2 separate regions of the Homo sapiens genome follow, and region 1 is linked to region 2. The links are contacts of gene promoters, found by promoter capture Hi-C in blood cells and fetal thymus (Javierre and others, 2016). All regions are on one chromosome and are shown on one strand. The core of a region is centred on a gene start or on the middle of the fragment in contact, and the rest is flanking DNA. Distances in the headings are between cores, read along the strand shown. Region 1 has its middle 21 kb from the start of POLD3. Region 2 holds the start of P4HA3 (prolyl 4-hydroxylase subunit alpha 3).

Region 1 (5,181 bases), core at 1,833-4,332, 260 kb after region 2:
TTTCCTACCCCCACCCACACCCCCACCCCTCCCCAGCCCTGAGCAACTACTGATGTACAAATTTCCCTATTCTGGACTTTCACATGAATGGAATCATATAGCATGTAGCCATTTGCAACTGTCTTATTTTATTTAGCATGATGTTTTCAAGGTCCATCTATGTTGTGGCATGTATCAGTACTTCATTCCTTTTTATGGCTGAATCATATTCTATTGTATACCATGTTTTGTTTATCCATTCATTTGTTGACAGACATTTGGGTTATTTCCATGTCTTGGCTATTACGAACAATGCTGCTATAAACATTCATACACAAGCTTCTGTGTGGGCATATGTTTTCATTTTCTGCCCATTTGTTGACTCTAATTCTTCAGGCTTTCTGGTGACTCCATGAGTTACAGAAAATTATCTTAAATTTTTTTCTTATTCAAATAAGACAATATTGATTTCTGTTAGCTGGATTCACTTGCAGCTAATTTTTGTAATTTTTTGTACAGACATGGTCTTGCTGTGTTGCCCAGGCTGGTCTCAAACTCCTGGCCTCAAGTGATCCACCCCCATCAGCCTCCCAAAGTGCTGGGATTACAGGCATGAGCCACCACGCCCAGAATTTTCTTACTTTTGTTAAAAGACATGAGGACTTAACTATTTTCTCTGGGGCCCAGTTCTTAGTCCCAGAACAAAAGGGCTATAATTGGCTAATGTGACACACTTCCCAGTTAACCTTCAGTGCTGAATTTAATCTTCCTTATACATTGATGTAGAGAATGAGATCCAGAGAAGGAAAGTGACTTGCTTAAGGTCACACAGCCAGTCAGTGGTACAGTTAAGACTAGAATCTAGAACTCCTTATGCCAACTTAATGTTCTTCCCCCTACACTAGGCCTCCTGTCATCAATTCAACAACTGTTTGTTAAGCTCTGTGGTCATAGGATATATGGAAGAAGCAGGGGAGACAGAGTCCAAAGACATGATTTCTGCTCCTGGCTTTGCCACTTCCTACCTTTGTGACCTTGGACAATTTATTCTGTGTCTCTGGGTCTCAGCTATCTCATACAAAAAAGCAGGAGTTGGAGATTGGAGGCTAGGCAGGGAGAGCGGTTGGATTAGAGGGGACAAGCTCAAATGCCTACAACCTCCGTTTCATTTATTCAATTACATTTTATTCACTTATAATTTATCACCTCCTTTTTTTTTTGAGATGGGGTCTCACTCTATTGCCCAGGCCAGAGTGTAGTGGTGCTATCTTGGCTCACTGCAGCCTCAACCTCCTGGGCTCAAGCAACCCTTCTACCTCCTTCTCCTGTGTAGCTGGACCTATAGGCATGTGCCACCACTTCCAGCTAATTTTTGTAATTTTTTGTACAGACAGGGTCTTGCTATGTTGCCCAGGCTGGTCTCAAACTCCTGGCCTCAAGTGATCCACCCCCATCAGCCTCCCAAAGTGCTGGGATTACAGGCATGAGCCACCATGCCCAGAATTTTCTTACTTTTGTTAAAGACATGATCAATAAATATTTCACACATTAAAAAAAATGTTTAGGCCAGGTGCAGTTGTTCACGCCGATAATCTCAGCACTTTGGGAGGCCGAGGCAGGTGGATCACTTGAGCCCAGGAGTTGAAGACCAGCCTGGGCAACATAGGGAGACCCCTGCCTCTACAAAAAATATGAACCTTAGCTGGTATGGTGGCACGTGCCTGTAGTCCCAGCTACTCAGGAGGCTGAGGTGGGAAGATAGCGTGAACCCAAGAGATGGAGGTTGCAGTAAGCTGTGATTGTGTCACTGCACGCCAGCCTGGGTGGCAGAGTGAGACCCTGTCTCAAAAAAAAAAAAAAGTTTTAAGAAAAATAATAGTACAACCACCTTGATCAATGGCAAAAATAACTTGGCCTCAGTGTTGGGAGAACACAGGGAATGATAAGGACCAAGGCTCACCATGGTAGAGCACAAGATATTTGGATTTTTTAAAAGCCTGAAATATGATTTTACTAGGACATCCCTTATTCTTTAAATTTGGGCAATTAATTCAATTAAACTTTTTCATACAGAGCGTTTTCTAATTGTGTATTGAGGTCCTATCTTTATTGTTATTCTTCATGGAGGAAGGAGCGGCAATAACTCCTAATGGGAGATAGCAAAAGGAGAGGTGACTCTGCCATCTGCTGCTCACTGATGGTATGTACCTACAGGCCTTCAGTAGGATTTAGGTGCCACCCTTATAAAGGGTCAGCTCTGAAAGTCTTTGCTGGGGACATCTCCAATATCCTAATTTGATGGTTGGGGTGTCAGGCACATGGAGGCCTTATATCCCAATACCTGGAAACCATGAAGCCGGCTCCAAGGTAAAGCCCACAAGCTGAATCTGACCTCTGGTAGGCATCAGGCATGTGTTGCCACAGAGCTAAAAGTGTGGCTGGAGAAGGACGAGAGGAGAGGAAAGAGGATTGCGGTGGGAGTCGCCAAGAAAGCTGGAAGCCATTGCACAGCTCCAGGAACAGGGGCAAGGGCTGAGGTAAAAAAAAAAAAAAAAGAGAGAGAAATGAGTGGATTTGAGAAACAGTACAAGAAAATCCGACTTGATAAGACATTGGATTCAGAGAATGAAGGGCTGGAACTGCCAGTGCCTGCCAGTGAGTTGTACTTTGTGCTACCAACTAATCTTCGTAGAACTTCAGTTTGATTATTCATTACCTCCAGCCTATTTTGGCTTCCTACTGAAATCAGGACACAAGGAAATTTGTCACCAGGTAGACAATAAATGTCCCTCCCCACCCCCTGCCAGTCACCCCACTAGTCTTATTAGGAATCCTACACTTGGTAGGAATTAAGAAGTCTTGACTGTGAGTCCCAAGTTCAGTCATTTTCTGGCTGACTGACCTTGGGGAAAGTGACCAAACACCTGGGAGTTTAGTTTTCTCATCTTCAGTTTACTCATCTGAACAATGGAGCAATGGCAACAACAGCTCCCTTTAGGCTGAGCCAAGCTTCATACAAGCTAATGTCAGACATCTATCATCTTATTGAATTCTTGCAACCCCAGGAAATGGGCACTACCATTACCCCCATTATTCAAATGAGGACACTGAAGCTCTGAGAAATTGAGTGGCTTGCCCAAGGCCATATAGCTAGAAAGTGGGAGAAGCTGTCTTTCCAACTCAGACTGCTTAGCTCCAAAGCTTTACTGCTCTGGATCTCTGTCTCAGTGAGCTTTTGCTATAAAATGACCCACCCTGAAACACAGTGGCTTAAAACAACAATCATTTTGTTTAGTTCACAGTTCTAAGGTACAGTATATTTATACAGGTCACAGTTTTGATCTTGGCCAATTTAGCTGATCTATGCTGGATTCCCACATGCATGGGTCTGTGGATAGCTGGTAAGTTGGCTCAATCACATATTTGGTGACTGGCAGTTGGCTGGAGCACCCTGATGCTCCTCCATATAGCCTCTCATCTTCCAGCAGGCTAGCTTAGGCTCATTGACTTGGCGGGCTAAAGATTCCAAGTTTAACAAGAGAAGACAGGCCAGATGCAGTGGCTCACACCTGTAATCCCAGCACTTTGGGAGGCTGAGGTGGGAGGATCATGAGATCAGGAGTTCAAGACCAGCCTGGCCAATATGATGAAACCCCGTCTCTACTAAAAATACAAAAATTAGCTGGGTGTGGTGGTGCATGCCTGTAATCCCAGCTACTCAGGAGACTGAGACAGAAGAATCGCATGAACCCGGGAGGCAGAGGTTGCAGTGAGCTGAGATCACGCCACTGCACTCCAGCCTAGGTGACAAAGCGAGACTCCATCTCAAAAAAAAAAAAGAGAGAGCAGACAAGCCTCCGTGCTCAAGCATGTTTCAAGTCATCGCAAAGCCAAACCAGACTCAGAGTGCAAAAGCACTTTCAAAAGGTGTGGGTAGAGGGAAGGGGATAATCTGTGGTCATTTTTACAATCTGCCATAAATGCTATGCTATAATCCCTGTTTCACAGGGTTGATCACATGAGATAAAGAATGTGAATCAGCTTTGACGTGAATCAGCTTTGTGAACTTCTATAAAATATTGTCCAGAGGAGTGGCATTGTTTAATGATTAGTACTGTATGCCAATAGTACCTCGAACTCAACACATCTGGTAATTATCTCCATTTTCCAGATGAGGAAACTGAAGCCTAGAGAGCTTAGGGGGCTTGCACATGATCATACAGCCAGAATCTGAACAGAGATCTGTGTGTGCAGTGCTCTTCAGCAACTTGATTCTTTATTGCATTGTTCTATAATCCGTTTTCCTGAGCAGGTCTTGTTTTCCCAACTAAAATTCCTTAAGGACTTTTTTTTTTTTTTTTTTTTGAGATGGACTCTCACTCTGTTGCCTAGGCTGGAGTGCAGTGGCGCGATCTTGGCTCACTGCAACCTCCATCTCCCGGGTTCAAGCAATTTTTCTACCTCAGCCGCCCGAGTAGCTGGGACTATAGGCACGTGCCACCAACGCCTGGCTAATTTTTGTGTTTTTAGTAGAGACAGGGTTTTGCCATATTGGCCAGGCTAGTCTTAAACTCCTGACCTCATGATCCGCCTGCCTTGGCCTCCCAAAGTGCTGGGATTACAGGTGTGAGCCACTGCACCCGGCCCTTAAGGACGTATTATAGGTCTTTTATTTCTTTTGTGGCCACGGTGGTGGCTAGCATTATACTAAACACATGGTAGGCACTCACTAAAGACTTTTCAAATGACTGAATCACTCATTCATTTATTTATTCCCTTTTTAAGCAAACATTTATTGAACACCAATTATTACATAGGTCCTGGACACTGAGAATACAGAAATAAATAACACAATATTCCTTTTCTTAAGAAACTCGCCTAGTTAAAAAAAAAAAATTCAACCTGACACTGTAATCTAGCATGATAGAACCTCAAAGGGTTATGACAGCAAAGGAAAGGAGCCCTAAACTAGCCTGGCAGAGAAGATACCTGCCTTCTTTATGGCTGAGGACACTGAGGAGGATACTTCTGAAGAGAGCACAGCAGATGCAAAGACTTGTGGGAAATAACACGGTATGTACCTGGACTTATCAGCAGTCTGTGTTGCTGGAGCATAGGTAAGAAGCAGCTAGGGGTGAGAGGTGAAGTTGAGGTGGTAAGAAGCTCAAACTTGATCTCTTTTTTTGGGACAGGGTCTTGCTC
Region 2 (5,096 bases), core at 1,894-4,393:
CCACTGCACTCTAGCCTGGGTGACAGAGCAAGACCCTGTCTCTTAAAAAGCAAACATTTCACTGGGTTTTAGAGCAGTCACTAGAGAACAGAATGACAGAATGACAGTCTTCAAAATATCAAACTAAACTACAAAATTAACTGTTCATAAGTCACCTGAGAAAATAATTGAGAACTTTTCTGATTTGTTTTTTTATCTAGGCTGTCACAATCCTAGTTAATACTTAGAGCCAAAAGTGGGGCCTAGTTTCACTAGATGGTCTTAAAATAAAATAAAATAAAATAATAAGCATAAAGGCTTAGCATTTGTCCATCAATTGTTACATGCCAGGTACAATGATAAAAACTTTTACATGGTACTCTTAATCCTTCCAAAAACCCTATGGTGGTAGGTACTATTTTTATCATCATTTTACAGATTAGGAAACTAAAGCTCAAAGAGGTAAAGTAACTTGTCCAAGATCAGAGCCAACGATTCAAATAGAGGTCTGTTAAACTCCTGAATTCACTGTTAACCACCATGTACTGTGGCCACTAGTAAAACCTCAATTAGTTAGGGGCTTGGTCTATGTCTTGGTATAACAGATAAAAGAAGTGGTAGGGATAACATAGCATAGTAGGAAAAAAGTTGGATAAACAATCAAAACAACTGTGTCCTAGTCCTGGATTTGCTACCTATTAGATTTATTAATACAATCTTGAGTGAGCAACTAGACTTTAGTTTTCTCATGTTTTAACTGATTTCTCAATAGTTAACAAGTGTAATACAAATCTATTTCAAAGCATTGTGTGTGAGAGAGAATCAGATGAGATATGGTTTGTATGAGACCTCCTGCTGTGACAAAGTTGTGATAATGACAGTGGTGGAAAGACAGTGAAGGAGACCAGCATGGTGGAATGGGGTTGGCCAGCTGCTTTGGCCAAAATGCTTCAAGTGCTCTCTTCTGAGAATGTAACCTGAAAGACCAGCAGGGGGATTTTGACCCCCCACTCCCGTCTCCATCTGAGCTACCCAAAGAGATTACTGGTATGAGAACAAGCATGGGTAGCAGGGAGAATGCTGGGCTCTGAAATCAAAGAGAAAAAATTCTGTCCTATTTCCACTAATAAGCTTGGACTCCAATGACTCTGGGCTATGAACAAAAAGAAAACATTTGGCTCGGTCAACATGGACCCATAGAATACTAGACAACTATGCTATTCCAAAGAGTGACAATAATTATTGAAATGATCTTCATTTATTGTTAAAATTAATACATACCTATATTGTATATTGTCACACTATTTCAAGCTGTTTATACGCAAGCCACATACTTAAGGACAAGCACCACATTAGCTCATTCAGTCACTATTAACAAGATCTCTCGCAAATACTTTCCACCCACAAAATGCTTCTCTTCTACATAGCTCTCTCTCACAGTCATGGGGTCACAAAGTTTCGCACAGGGTGACAATGGGTTTGGGGGTCACACTGGACCTCAGAGTCACTCCCCATTCCACATACCTTCTTCTCATGTCACCCCAGAATCAGTATTATTACCACACACACTCACGCAAAGTTTTAAAAGCAGTGCATTGTGCTGTCTTTGCTCAATGATAAGGTCACATGATATAAGTACAATATTAATATATCCAAATAGTGACGTGGTCATAACCACTCTGTCAGTGTTGTAGGCTTCTTGATGTCCCAGGCAGAGAAGGCGCAGCACATATTCATACAGATGGTATCATATACAATCATTTATCTTTCATTTTTGTCAGTTGGACACTGCTAAGTCGATACATGACTATGGTGCCTCAGCATCCCAAGTCTGACAACCTTTTATGCCACAGTGTGTAGCACTAGAGTTTGTTGACTGTACCCCAAAACTATATTAGCTGAGCATCCACTGCTGTGTGCTACACTCAGTATCTTCTGCATCAAGTATGTTTTTTCACAGTGCTTTTTTGATATCAAATATGTTGACACACATATAACATCTCAGTTATCATTTATTTAGTATTTAGAGAGCTTCTACATGTGTAAAGAGAAGGAAGAACTGAAGACGTAGACGGCAGTGGACATCTCTGATTAACAGTCATGGTGCTACAGACCCAAACTCCTCGAGGGCAGAGTTGGCTCTTGATCACCATTTTATCCCCACTGCCTGGAACACTGCCTGGCTCTTAGTAGGCACTCAAAAATATGTGTTGTATGAATTAATGAACTGAAGCATTATTCATATAGCGACCTGTACAGTTACTCAGCATCATTCACATGCAGAGTATGATATCCACAGTGTCGTGCCCATCCAGTCCCAATGACATGTAAACCTCACATATGGTGGAAGACTGTCACCTGACTCCTAACACTAAACATCAGCTCACTAGGTCATGCGGTGTTTCACGATCCCCCCTTGAAAGGTCAATACTTGCGTAGCTAAAGCGTCACCGTATTCTCTCCATGTCACTCTCACAGTGTCTCTGTCACAGCACCGTCCACTGTGTCTGTGTCAGTGTGACACAGGGCCTGGGGCTCACACAGCTTTGCACAGCACATTGTGAGGTCCTAGAGTCACCCCGCCCCGCTCTTCCACAGTGTATCAACTTTGCTGTGTGACGCTGGATATGGGGGGTGCCACTATGTGTGTGATGGAGTCTGCAGTCCCAGTGTGACCCAACCCTCGCCAACACCTCATGCCACGGAGTGTCAGGGTCCCACACAGGGTGACAATGGGTCTAGGGGGTCACACTGGCCCTCAGAGCCACTCCCCACCCCATGCCACAATGTCTCAGTCGCACGGTGCGACAGTGGGTCTGGGGTCCCACGCAGCATGACAATGAGCCTGGGGTCACACTCAACCTGAGTCACCCCACCCTGCGGCACAGTGTATCCCACTGAGGCCCCTCGGTCGCTCCCACTCGTCGTGCCCTCACCTAGTCAGGTCCCGCAGCCGCGCCTCCTCCCCGCGCAGGTACCGCCTCAGCAGCCCCAGCAGCCGGCGCTCGGGCGCCAGGGCGCGCGCCACGCTGGTCAGCGCCGAGAACGTGTCGCCCCGAGCCGCAGCCCTTTCTGGGTCTCCTGTCCCGAGCGCCAGCACCGCCAGCAGCGCCGCCAGCCGCGCCCCAGGACCCATAGCCAGCGCTCGCGAACTTCCCCTCAGACAGTCCTGGCCGCGCGGCGGCAGCCGCTCCCGCCCTCGCCTGCCCCGCCCCTGTCTCCGCCCCCTCCCGGCTCAGGCCCCGCCCTCTGGCCCCGGCCCGGCCCGTCCCGTCCACCGCCCAGTCTCGCTCCACGCCCCCTGACTCCTTCCTTGTTTCGACGCCTCACCTCGCTCTCTATTCCTCAGCTCCTCGGAATGCGTGGGGGCTTCCTGCAACATCAGTCTCCGCCGCCCTCCACTAAATCGCGACCCTGGGAAGGTGTTTCCACTGTGCCCATCACACTAGGGGAAATTGAGGCGGAGGCAGGGTGAGCGATGAATTCACAGGTCTAAGGCTGTGACTATCCCCAAATATTGTTAACACCACGCTCACAGGATCCCCAAAATATCCGCCCCTCTGTACCATGGAGTGGGAATACACAAACACCACTGGATCCCCACAGGGACGTCCAGAAGAGTCAATTATGCGTATGTGAATAGGTGCGCAGGCAAAGAGCGGCAAGAGGACAGCTGGGAGGAAAACCCTCACAGAGAGCGTGACATCTGAGCCATCTGAAGGATAAGTAGGACTGTGTCAGGATGTGAGTATATGACAAATCTAGGACTTACAGAACCTGAAGCTCTGGGGTCCTAAAGTCACTGCTTTACACAATATACTTAGAGTCACTTAAGCAAATAAAAATATTATTATTATTATTATAGCCTACTAGGCTATGTACTCTATTTCCCCCCTCTTATGCATTTCCCAGGCAATGTTCATTCATGCAACAAATATTTATTAGTACCTGTGTTACTGTGCTGCCTACACAGAGAAATAGCAGATCCAATCCTGGACTCAAAGGAGGAGACAGTTATGTAAACAAGTAATCACAATAAAGTGCTGTCAGAGTAACTGAGGGTTGTGCAATATGCAATGGCAACACTGAAGAAGGAACCCTCATGTAGTGGGTGGAGAGGGCATCAGAGAGGAGGTGATGGGTGCTGGTTCAAAAGGATGAAAAAAATTGGAAGTTGACAGGCAAGGGAGGAGTGGGCTTTCCTGGCAGAAGGTACATGGGCGTGACAAGGTTTGGAGGTGGAAAACAGTTTGAGTTCCAGAAATGATGAAAAGTTTCTTGTGCTTGAAACTATCAGATTGTGAAAGGTCTTTGCATGTCATACTAAGAAATTTAGGTGCTTGTCCTCTATGAAAATCCAGTGGAAGTTTTTAAGGTAGCAATAATTGTAATAACAATGGCAACAGTAAACATAGTAGTTAATACTTACCGGGTGTTTCCTGTGTGGCAGTCGCCATCCAGAGTATTTTACATATATTAACTCATTTAATCGCTGTCCAGAGTATTTTACATGTATTAACTCATTTAATTCTCATGCTGACCCTATAGCCTAAGTAATATTAGTATTCTTACAGTATTATTGGCCCCACTTTACCGATGAGAAGACTGAATTGTAGGGACAATCATTAACCTACTCAGTGTTAATCACTTGTGGACCACATTCGAGGTGTGCTGGTAAACCAGCTCTCCAGGAAAAAAATAAAGTTCTGGTTTGTGGCATTTGCCAATTTCTGTGGTGTCAATTCTCCCACAGTGGCTAATTTCGACATGCAAAAATGTCACCACTGACTGTGGTTGGATAAAGATGCCAACAACTCCTGTGAGCTGGGGTGAGCCAGCTCCAGCACACCACTGCTTGTGTAGACATGAGATGTAACATGCAGATCCCCCTTCGAAGAAGGACTTGTTGCACAGCTGCAGGGTATGTGATGAGAAGAGTATCCAGTGGTCAGCTGCTTTAGGGTCTGTCCTATAGCAGAGAGCAGTCTCGCTTAGGGAAATGTCCTTCCTGGAACAGCCCTAATCCAGCAATGGAGCAAGGTGAGGGAATCAAGGCCTAGCCATTTTGGCCCATCGTGAGACAATTCTTACAGGAAATACTAGCTCCAGCGCACCTG

Evidence for each region. Contacts are between HindIII fragments. The CHiCAGO score rates a contact against its expected background, and 5 or more counts as called.
Region 1: a contact is called between a fragment that was not itself captured here and the fragment with the promoter of P4HA3 in region 2, in 4 of 17 cell types (M1 macrophages, megakaryocytes, M0 macrophages and 1 more). The highest score is 9.0, in M1 macrophages.

The regions. Positions count from the first base shown.
Region 1 is chr11:74,568,543-74,573,723 of GRCh38, forward strand. No RefSeq gene overlaps it. Among named protein-coding and RNA genes, the nearest start is that of POLD3, 21 kb to the right of the region's middle. The HindIII fragment of the contact is 192 bases long and covers 2,987-3,178 here.
Region 2 is chr11:74,308,497-74,313,592 of GRCh38, forward strand. It overlaps P4HA3 (prolyl 4-hydroxylase subunit alpha 3), which reads right to left and starts at 3,144. Exons shown (of 13, transcript NM_182904.5): 1 at 2,916-3,144. The coding sequence starts at 3,115. P4HA3-AS1 (P4HA3 antisense RNA 1) reads left to right here and starts at 2,866. Exons shown (of 7, transcript NR_120556.1): 1 at 2,866-2,953; 2 at 3,329-3,450; 3 at 3,623-3,723. The HindIII fragment of the contact is 4,256 bases long and covers 1,109-5,096 here.